2 separate regions of the Homo sapiens genome follow, and region 1 is linked to region 2. Evidence: promoter capture Hi-C in human tissues and cell types (Jung and others, 2019). All regions are on one chromosome and are shown on one strand. The core of a region is centred on a gene start or on the middle of the fragment in contact, and the rest is flanking DNA. Distances in the headings are between cores, read along the strand shown.

The links. Contacts are between HindIII fragments. The study calls those that stand out against the background at their distance.
Region 1: a contact is called between a fragment that was not itself captured here and the fragment with the promoter of PRSS48 in region 2, in 1 of the 25 tissues and cell types used here (small bowel).

What each region holds. Positions count from the first base shown.
Region 1 is chr4:151,627,641-151,631,547 of GRCh38, forward strand. FHIP1A (FHF complex subunit HOOK interacting protein 1A) reads left to right here. Exons shown (of 14, transcript NM_001109977.3): 8 at 2,062-2,229. Among named protein-coding and RNA genes, the nearest start is that of GATB, 130 kb to the right of the region's middle. The HindIII fragment of the contact is 5,480 bases long and covers 1-3,907 here.
Region 2 is chr4:151,275,273-151,278,985 of GRCh38, forward strand. PRSS48 (serine protease 48) reads left to right here and starts at 1,889. Exons shown (of 5, transcript NM_183375.5): 1 at 1,889-1,952. The coding sequence starts at 1,901. The region is part of intron 1 of SH3D19 (SH3 domain containing 19); the gene reads right to left. The HindIII fragment of the contact is 14,422 bases long and covers 1-3,713 here.

The DNA.
Region 1 (3,907 bases), core at 846-3,345, 350 kb after region 2:
AGTTTGCAGTAGTGAAGTGGATGTGAGCTAATGTAGGGTTGTTGTGAGTCATTTCCCCCTTAGCTATGATTGGTGACATCAGTTATTACAGAGATCTTTATAAAAAACGTCTCTACTTTCTGGGACCTTCAGGACACATGTAGAGGATAAAGGATAATTAAAAGTTAAACTAAATTCTGGCAAATATAAATCACTAGATCTTTGGGGCTATCATTCACTCAGGAAGAAGTACATTTTATGTGCCAGGCTTTGTGCATTGCATTGAGGTAATAAAGAAAAGACACAGTGTGCATCCCAGGGCAGCATTAGGAGTGCTTCATATATGGGACTAGAAAACATCAGGAAACACAAAGACGGAAGTAGTTTGTTTCAGAAGCAGGGGCAGACCATGAAAAGCACTCTTCCCAGTGCAATTTATTTGTTAAATGTTTGATGGTTGCCTATTTCTGTTGCTGTATATGGGCCACAGAGAGCTCTTTACAGTTGGTCAGATGACATAGTGGTGTATTGAATGACTGAGAACTTGCATTGTTGGCACCGAGCTAGGGGAAGGGGATTTGCGCTATGATATGTACTCAGACCACTGTGGAATGACTTCTCGTTAGATACTAATGCACTGGATAAGCATGCCTTGCTTAGATAAAGAAAACAGACACACTGACTTGGTAATATCTTATCCACCTGGGCTCATCTATCCAGAAGAAAGCTGAGCACCAATAACTTTTTAAAAGTAATTTAAACTGCCAAAATAGATAGCTCCAAGCCTTTATGCACAGATGCATCCACTCAGGGCTCATCTACACTTATGTAGCAGATCTGGACATCTGGTTTCTAAACTAATCTGTGGATTTTAAAAGCCGAAAATTAAAAGGGGAAGAGGAATGGAATATAAAAGGAATGGCCCAGTAACCGTAAGATAATGTGACAACTAACACTTTTAAAGGAAGAGAATGAAAGAAGATTTTAAAAAATGGAAAAGGGAAAATAATCACTCAAAAAGTATTGCCATCTGTTTTGTTTAAAATCGAGTGCATTTGACTCATGGTGGAGGGATTGCTAAGATTTCTAGGGTGTGTGGTATTAGAATCTGAGAGTTTGAACTATTTCTCTGGTGGTTTTCACGCATTCAGGTGTGGCTGTTTCTTTATGCTTCTGCGGGGCAATTGATGACCCTGGGAATGACCTCTATTCATCAAGAGATGGTATATTCTCATCTTAGGAGGACAAAGATGTATATGCTAGCTCTTAAAATACTCCCAATAAAAATGTTTAAGGTTAGAATTTTGATACTTGAAGCATCAAATCCTCGGCTTCTTGAAAAACTTGGCTCTTCAGAGTCTTATTCACTGAAAAATTGACATTTTACTGCATGAGAAAATTACACCAGGTAGCATATATTAATTTGTTATAAAAAAGTCGCAGTTACTTTATAAGCAGTAAGTTCTTATAGTACTTTGTAAATAACATTTTATGTGTATTATTCAGTTATAAAAAATTTGACATGCAGCTCTCCAGAAACACATCGGAACATCTGTAGCACTTTGTGTCTGTACTGCTCCTTTGCAATTTATATTATCATTTTGCTTGTCATAGCTCATCTTTCTGGACATAAGGAATGTTATGTTTTCAGCTCCTCGTACATAACAGGTCCCAATAAATGTTTACTGAATGACTAATAAAGAAACAAGTTATTCCGGGCTTTCTAATTAATCCTTTACTAACCATGTAAATACTTTCCATTATCTTTTTTCTTCATTTTTGATTACACTCTAAAATCTTTATGGTATTTGAACTGCATTTGATGATTAGAGTTACCAGAACACTTGAATTGATTCTTTATGCCTTTCTTTTTCCTTATTGAATTAAAGGGCGGAAACAGCATGAGGTATTGTGGAATGTGAATAGGTTATGGGCTTCAATAAAGCTCTGAAGTGTGTTTTCGTGGGCAGGCATGTTCTTGCCTTGATGATGTCACTGTGGTGAGGCTGGGGGCCACGGGAGAGGCGTGTATCACAGCATCAAAAGGATGCTCACCTGTGCTCACTCCGTTGTTTGTCCTAGGTGACTGTGGAAGAGGTCATGACCACAACTGCATATCTGGACCTTTTCCTGCGTAGCATCTCCGAGCCAGCACTACTTGAGATCTTCCTCCGTTTTATCCTATTGCACCAGCACGAGAATGTCCACATCCTAGACACTCTCACGAGTCGAATCAACACCCCGTTTCGGGTAAGGAGAGCGCCAGAGGAAGGGAACTTACAACTCAGAACAGATTTCAGGAGAGTTTTTTTTTGGGAATGAAATTATGAATATTCTCTTTTGCTCTCCTTTTTTTTTCTTTTTCTTTTTTGGTTGTTGTTGTTTTGTGGCCATTACCTTCTTTCTATTTGGGTAGAGATGAATGGAATAATGCGTTTTGTTCTCAGGGATCCTTCTGTCAAGAGGTGACACTTACTGCCTTTCCTAGGACATCTTTCGCTATTTCTCTGTTTTAGCACTTTCTTCTGTAGAACTAGCAGAGTGCACTTCTGTGGGGGCAAGATGCAAGGGAACATGTGGGCTTAAGCACAGATAAAGCCAAGGAACCAGAGTGCATCAAGTCTGGGTGTTAGAGATCATATTCCTGTCCATGAGTTTTCTTGAAATGGAAGTTTGGAAAGTTGTGAATTTGGGTGGTCATTCTTCATTTTGAAGCTCTGATTAACTTGAAAAATACTCCTCCCCAAAGGCTATCTCTAGTTAATTGCAATTCTTGTTTTAAAAGCAAAAGAATGAGAATGTATATATCATTCGGTTTGCAACATATATAGAGATAATATATAACAATAATTGCACAAAGGGGGGAAGAGGGAATAGACTTATATAGGAGTAATATTTCTATATTTCACTAGAGCTAATTTAATATAAACTTGAAGTAAATTCTGATAAGTTAAAATGTATACTGGAAGCCCTAGAGCAACCACTAAGAAAATAACTAAAAAAAGTGGAAAAATCTTTTAAAGGAATTAAAATGTTATACTAGAGAAAATATTCAATTAGCACTACACTTATCAGCAACATAATACACATTCTCCTCAAATGTACATGGAATATTCTCCAAGACAGACCATGTGCTAGGCCATATAACAAGCCTCAGTGAATTTAAGAGGATTGAAATCATGCAAAGCATGTTCTCTGATCATGATGGATGGAAATTAAAAAATTATTGACAGAAAGAAATTTGGGAAATTCACAAGTATATGGAAATTGACACACTTCTAATCAGTGGGTCAAAGAAGAAATCACAAGGAAAATGAGAATTTACTTTGAGATAAATGAGAATGAAGACAAAATATATCCAGACTTATGAGACACAGTGAAAGCATTGTTTAAAGGGAAATATATAGTTGTGAACACATATGTTAAAAAAAGAAGAAAGAGCTCAAAGCAGTAACCTAAGCTTCTACTTTAACACACTGGAAAAAGAAGAGCAAACAAAGCAGGCAGAAAGAAAACAATAAAGATTAGAGCAGAAATTAATGAAATAGAAAATTAAAAAAATGGAGAAAATAGGTGAAATAAAAAGTTGGTTCTTTGACAAGATTCACAAACCTTTAGCTAGGCTGAGAAAAAAAGAGGGAAGTCTCAAATTACTAAAATGAGAAATGAAAGAGGAGGATATTACTATCAACCTTACAGAAATAAAAACAATTAGGACCATGAGCAACTATATGCCAAAGGATGACTTAGATGAAATAGACAAATTCTAGAAAGACACAAACTTATGAAATGGAAGATCTAAATAAATTTATATCAAAATAAGATTAAAATAGAAATTAAAAGAACTACTCACAAAGAAAAGCCCAGACCCAGATGGCCTCACTGGTGAATTCTATCAAACATTTAGGCACTAGTTAAAAAGTGATGT
Region 2 (3,713 bases), core at 639-3,138:
GAGACGGGTTTTCACTGTGTTAGCCAGGATGGTCTCGATCTCCTGACCTCGTGACCCACCCGCCTCGGCCTCCCAGAGTGCTGGGATTACAGGCGTGAGCCACCATGCCCAGCCTCAAGATACATTTTTGAGGAGACATAATTCAGCTCAAAACAATAGCTTTAAAATAATCTCCTCTTGATTTAAGCTAGCTTAAGTGAGCCTCAGTTGCCTGTAACTGAATAGTTCTTACCAAAATATCTACATTTTCTGGTCTTCCATTATTATTTGAGACAGGTTCTTTCCGTCGCCCAAGCTGGAGCACAGTGGTACAGTCATAGCTCATGTAGCCTTGAACTACTGACTTCAAGTGATCCTCCTGCCTCAGCCTCCCGAGTAGCTGGGGACTTCAGGTGCACATCACTACACCAGGCTAATTTTTAAATTTTTGTAGATATAGGGTCTCACTGTATTGCCCAGGCTGATCTCAAACTCCTGGTCTCAAGGGATCCTCCCCGTTCAGCCTTTCAAAGTGCTGGGATAATAGGCGTAAGCTACCACGCCCAGCCACTTCTATTATTATTATTATTATTATTATTTTTTTTTTTTTAGACGGAGTCTCGCTCTGTCGCCCAGGCTGGAGTGCAGTGGCGCCATCTTGGCTCACTGCAACCTCCGCCTCCCGGGTTCAAGCGATTCTCCTGCCTCAGCCTCCCGAGTAGCTGTGACTACAGGTGCACGCCACTACACCCAGCTAATTTTTGTATTTTTAGTAGAGACGGGATTTCACCATGTTGGCCAGGATGGTCTCAAACTCCTGACCTCAGGTGATCCACCCGCCTCGGCCTCCCAAAGTGCTGGGATTACAGGCATGAGCCACCGTGCCTGGCCTATTAGTTTTAAACTGCTTATATGTTTCTTTCAAGCATCCCAATATTTTAAGTTGCAAGAGAGCAGTAACATTTTAATAGTTCATTGAATTCTGCCTCCACAGACCTAGCACCCTACAAACAATTGGCACAGAAAACAAAAGGCAGAGTGAAGATTTCTGAGGTAGATGTTGTGGTGTACCATCCAGACCCCCCTTTAGAACTGAAGCATTCATTCCCTTAGCAGCTAGGAGTGTTGGCTGCTGACAGTTCACAGCTAAGTCTTATTCCAAGAACTGCCAACAGAGCCACCTCACCCAAGGTAATGCCCCCTCCTAGGAGGTGGCCTGCATCCAATGATGCAGACCCCTAAGAACGCATCCTTCTTAGCTCAGTACAGAAAGTCTCTGAGGGCCACCTCAGCTCCAGAGAAACTTGTGAGATAGGCTGTGGCCTCTGTTGCAAACGCATCACAGTTCAACTCTCCCTCTAACCAATCCTACTACCCACCCAAGAGCTGCTGATCCTGAGACCACTCTAAAATAAATTTCCTGCACACAAATCTCTGTCTTAGAGTCTGTTTCCCAGGAAACTTGACTTGCAGTGCAGCTAACACTGTAACAGAAATGAAAACAAACAAACAAAAAAACTCAGAAAAATTAACCAGATACTGGGTTCATTTCCTCTTTTCCATTTCTTGCTTTTGGAGAATCCTGTCCACCTTCTATCTCCTTGCTAGAGACAGGGTCCTGTTTCTTCCAGTGCCCTCAACCAGCCACTCCTCAACACCACAGGCAGAAACCCCAGAAACCCTGCTCTCCCAGGACAGCAGGGGGCGCCACAGACCCCAGTTCCTCCCCTGGGTCCTGCAGCTGCACTTCTGAAGTCTGGTCCCTTCAGGATCTGGCAGCGGGTGAAGACCAAAGGAGAGGAGGGGGTGAAGCAGAGGAATCCATCTAGGAGAAGCTAGTTCTGGCAGCTCCCCATTGGCCTCTTCCTGGGAGCCTGAGTCCAGGAAGCAGGAAGCGCTCACTGGCTCTGAGGACAGAGACATGGGCCCTGCTGGCTGTGCCTTCACGCTGCTCCTTCTGCTGGGGATCTCAGGTGAGCGCCAGGGTGGGGTTGAGAAGGCAGAGGCAGAGGATTTTTACTAAAGAGGGCATCACATAGAACAATGTGACACTTCACCCATGGGATGTTAGTTATGAGTAGCACAGCCTGAGAAGGTCCTGAGAGGCTACTATATACCCAGCACCATTCCAATGCTCCCGATTGGAAATAGCAGTACACACACACACCCACAAGATCCCTATCTTCGTGGGACTTATAATCAATGCACATATTAAATGTGTAAATTATAAGGCTTGTTAGAAGGTAATAAGTACTATGAAAGGAAAGGGGCATCTGAAGTACAGGGGCAGGAGTGTTGCAATCTTTAGAAGGGTAGTTAAAGAAGGCCTCACTAAGAAGGAGTCATTTGAGCAGAACTGAAGGGGATAACTAAATTAAGTAAGAGGATCCAGGAAAAGAGCATCTCAAGCAGAGGGAACTGGAAGAGCAAACACTATTCTATGATTTCAGGTATATGCTTGTTCATTTATTTTTCTGGTCCACAGGGATTTAAAGGAAGGGTATACTGGCCAGGCACAGCAGCTCACGCCTGTAATCCCAGCACTTTGGGATGCCAAGGCGGGCAGATCACCTGAGATCAGGAGTTCAAGACCAGCCTGGGCAACATGGTGAAACCCCATCTCTACAAAAAATACAAAAATTAGCCGGGCGTGGTGGCGGGCACCTGTAGTCCCAGCTACTCAATAGACTGAGGCAGGAGAAGTGCTTGAGCCTGGAAAGTGGAGGTTGCAGTAAGCCGAGATAGCGCCACTGCACTCCAGCCTTAGCGACAGAGTAAGACCCCGTCCCCCCAAAAAACAGAAAGGGTATGCTGAGAGAGCAAAAAACTTAACAGGTAGCAAAGAAGAAAGATACACAAATACTGCAAAATGCCAATTCAGTTAAACCAAATAGCACAAAAGTAAACAGCTTGCAACCTCAACCGCATCTGAGGGCATCATTGTATTTATAAACTAACATACTTCATATTCCTGATGGTGACCTTGAATCAAGTAAAAGCTAAATTTGAATCTTCATAGAGCATTTTTTTTTTAAGAGACAGAGTCTCACTCTGTCACCCAGGTTAGAGTGCAGTGGTGCAATCATAGCCCACTGCAACCTCAGACTCCTGGGTTCAAGCAATCCTCCCACTCAGCCTCCCTAGTAGCTGGGACTACAGGTGTGGTTGAACCACACCTGTTGTGTTTGTGGCCCAAAAGAAGAAAAAAAAAACCCTGACTAGTATTTAGGAAGTGATTTGTGAAAAGTAAGAAAAGTCTCTAATATAGCACCTGTCTCCAACATTCCTTTTTCTACTTCTGTGCCTTATCTCTGGTCATCCCTAGTTTGAGAGTCCCATGTGACCTAGGGTTTCCTTCTGCCCTGCCTATCTCACCACATTTTTTTCCTTTTCTTTTCAGACAGGGTCTCACTCTCTCGCCCAGGCTGGAGTGCAGTGGCATGATCTAAACTCACCGCATCCTCCACCTCCCGGGCTCAAGCAATCCTCCTGCTTCAGCCTCCCAAGTAGCTGGGACTACAGGCATGCACCATCATGTCAGGCTAATTTCTTTATATTTTTTGTAGAGACGGTGTTTGGCCATGTTGCCCAGGCTGGTTTTGAACTCCTGGACTTGAGCAATCCACCCACCTCAGCCTCCCAAAGTGCTGGGGTTATAGGCGTGAGTCACTGTGCCCAGTCAATCTTACCACTTTCATTTGTCTATTGGTTCATTTATGTAGTCATGCAAATAT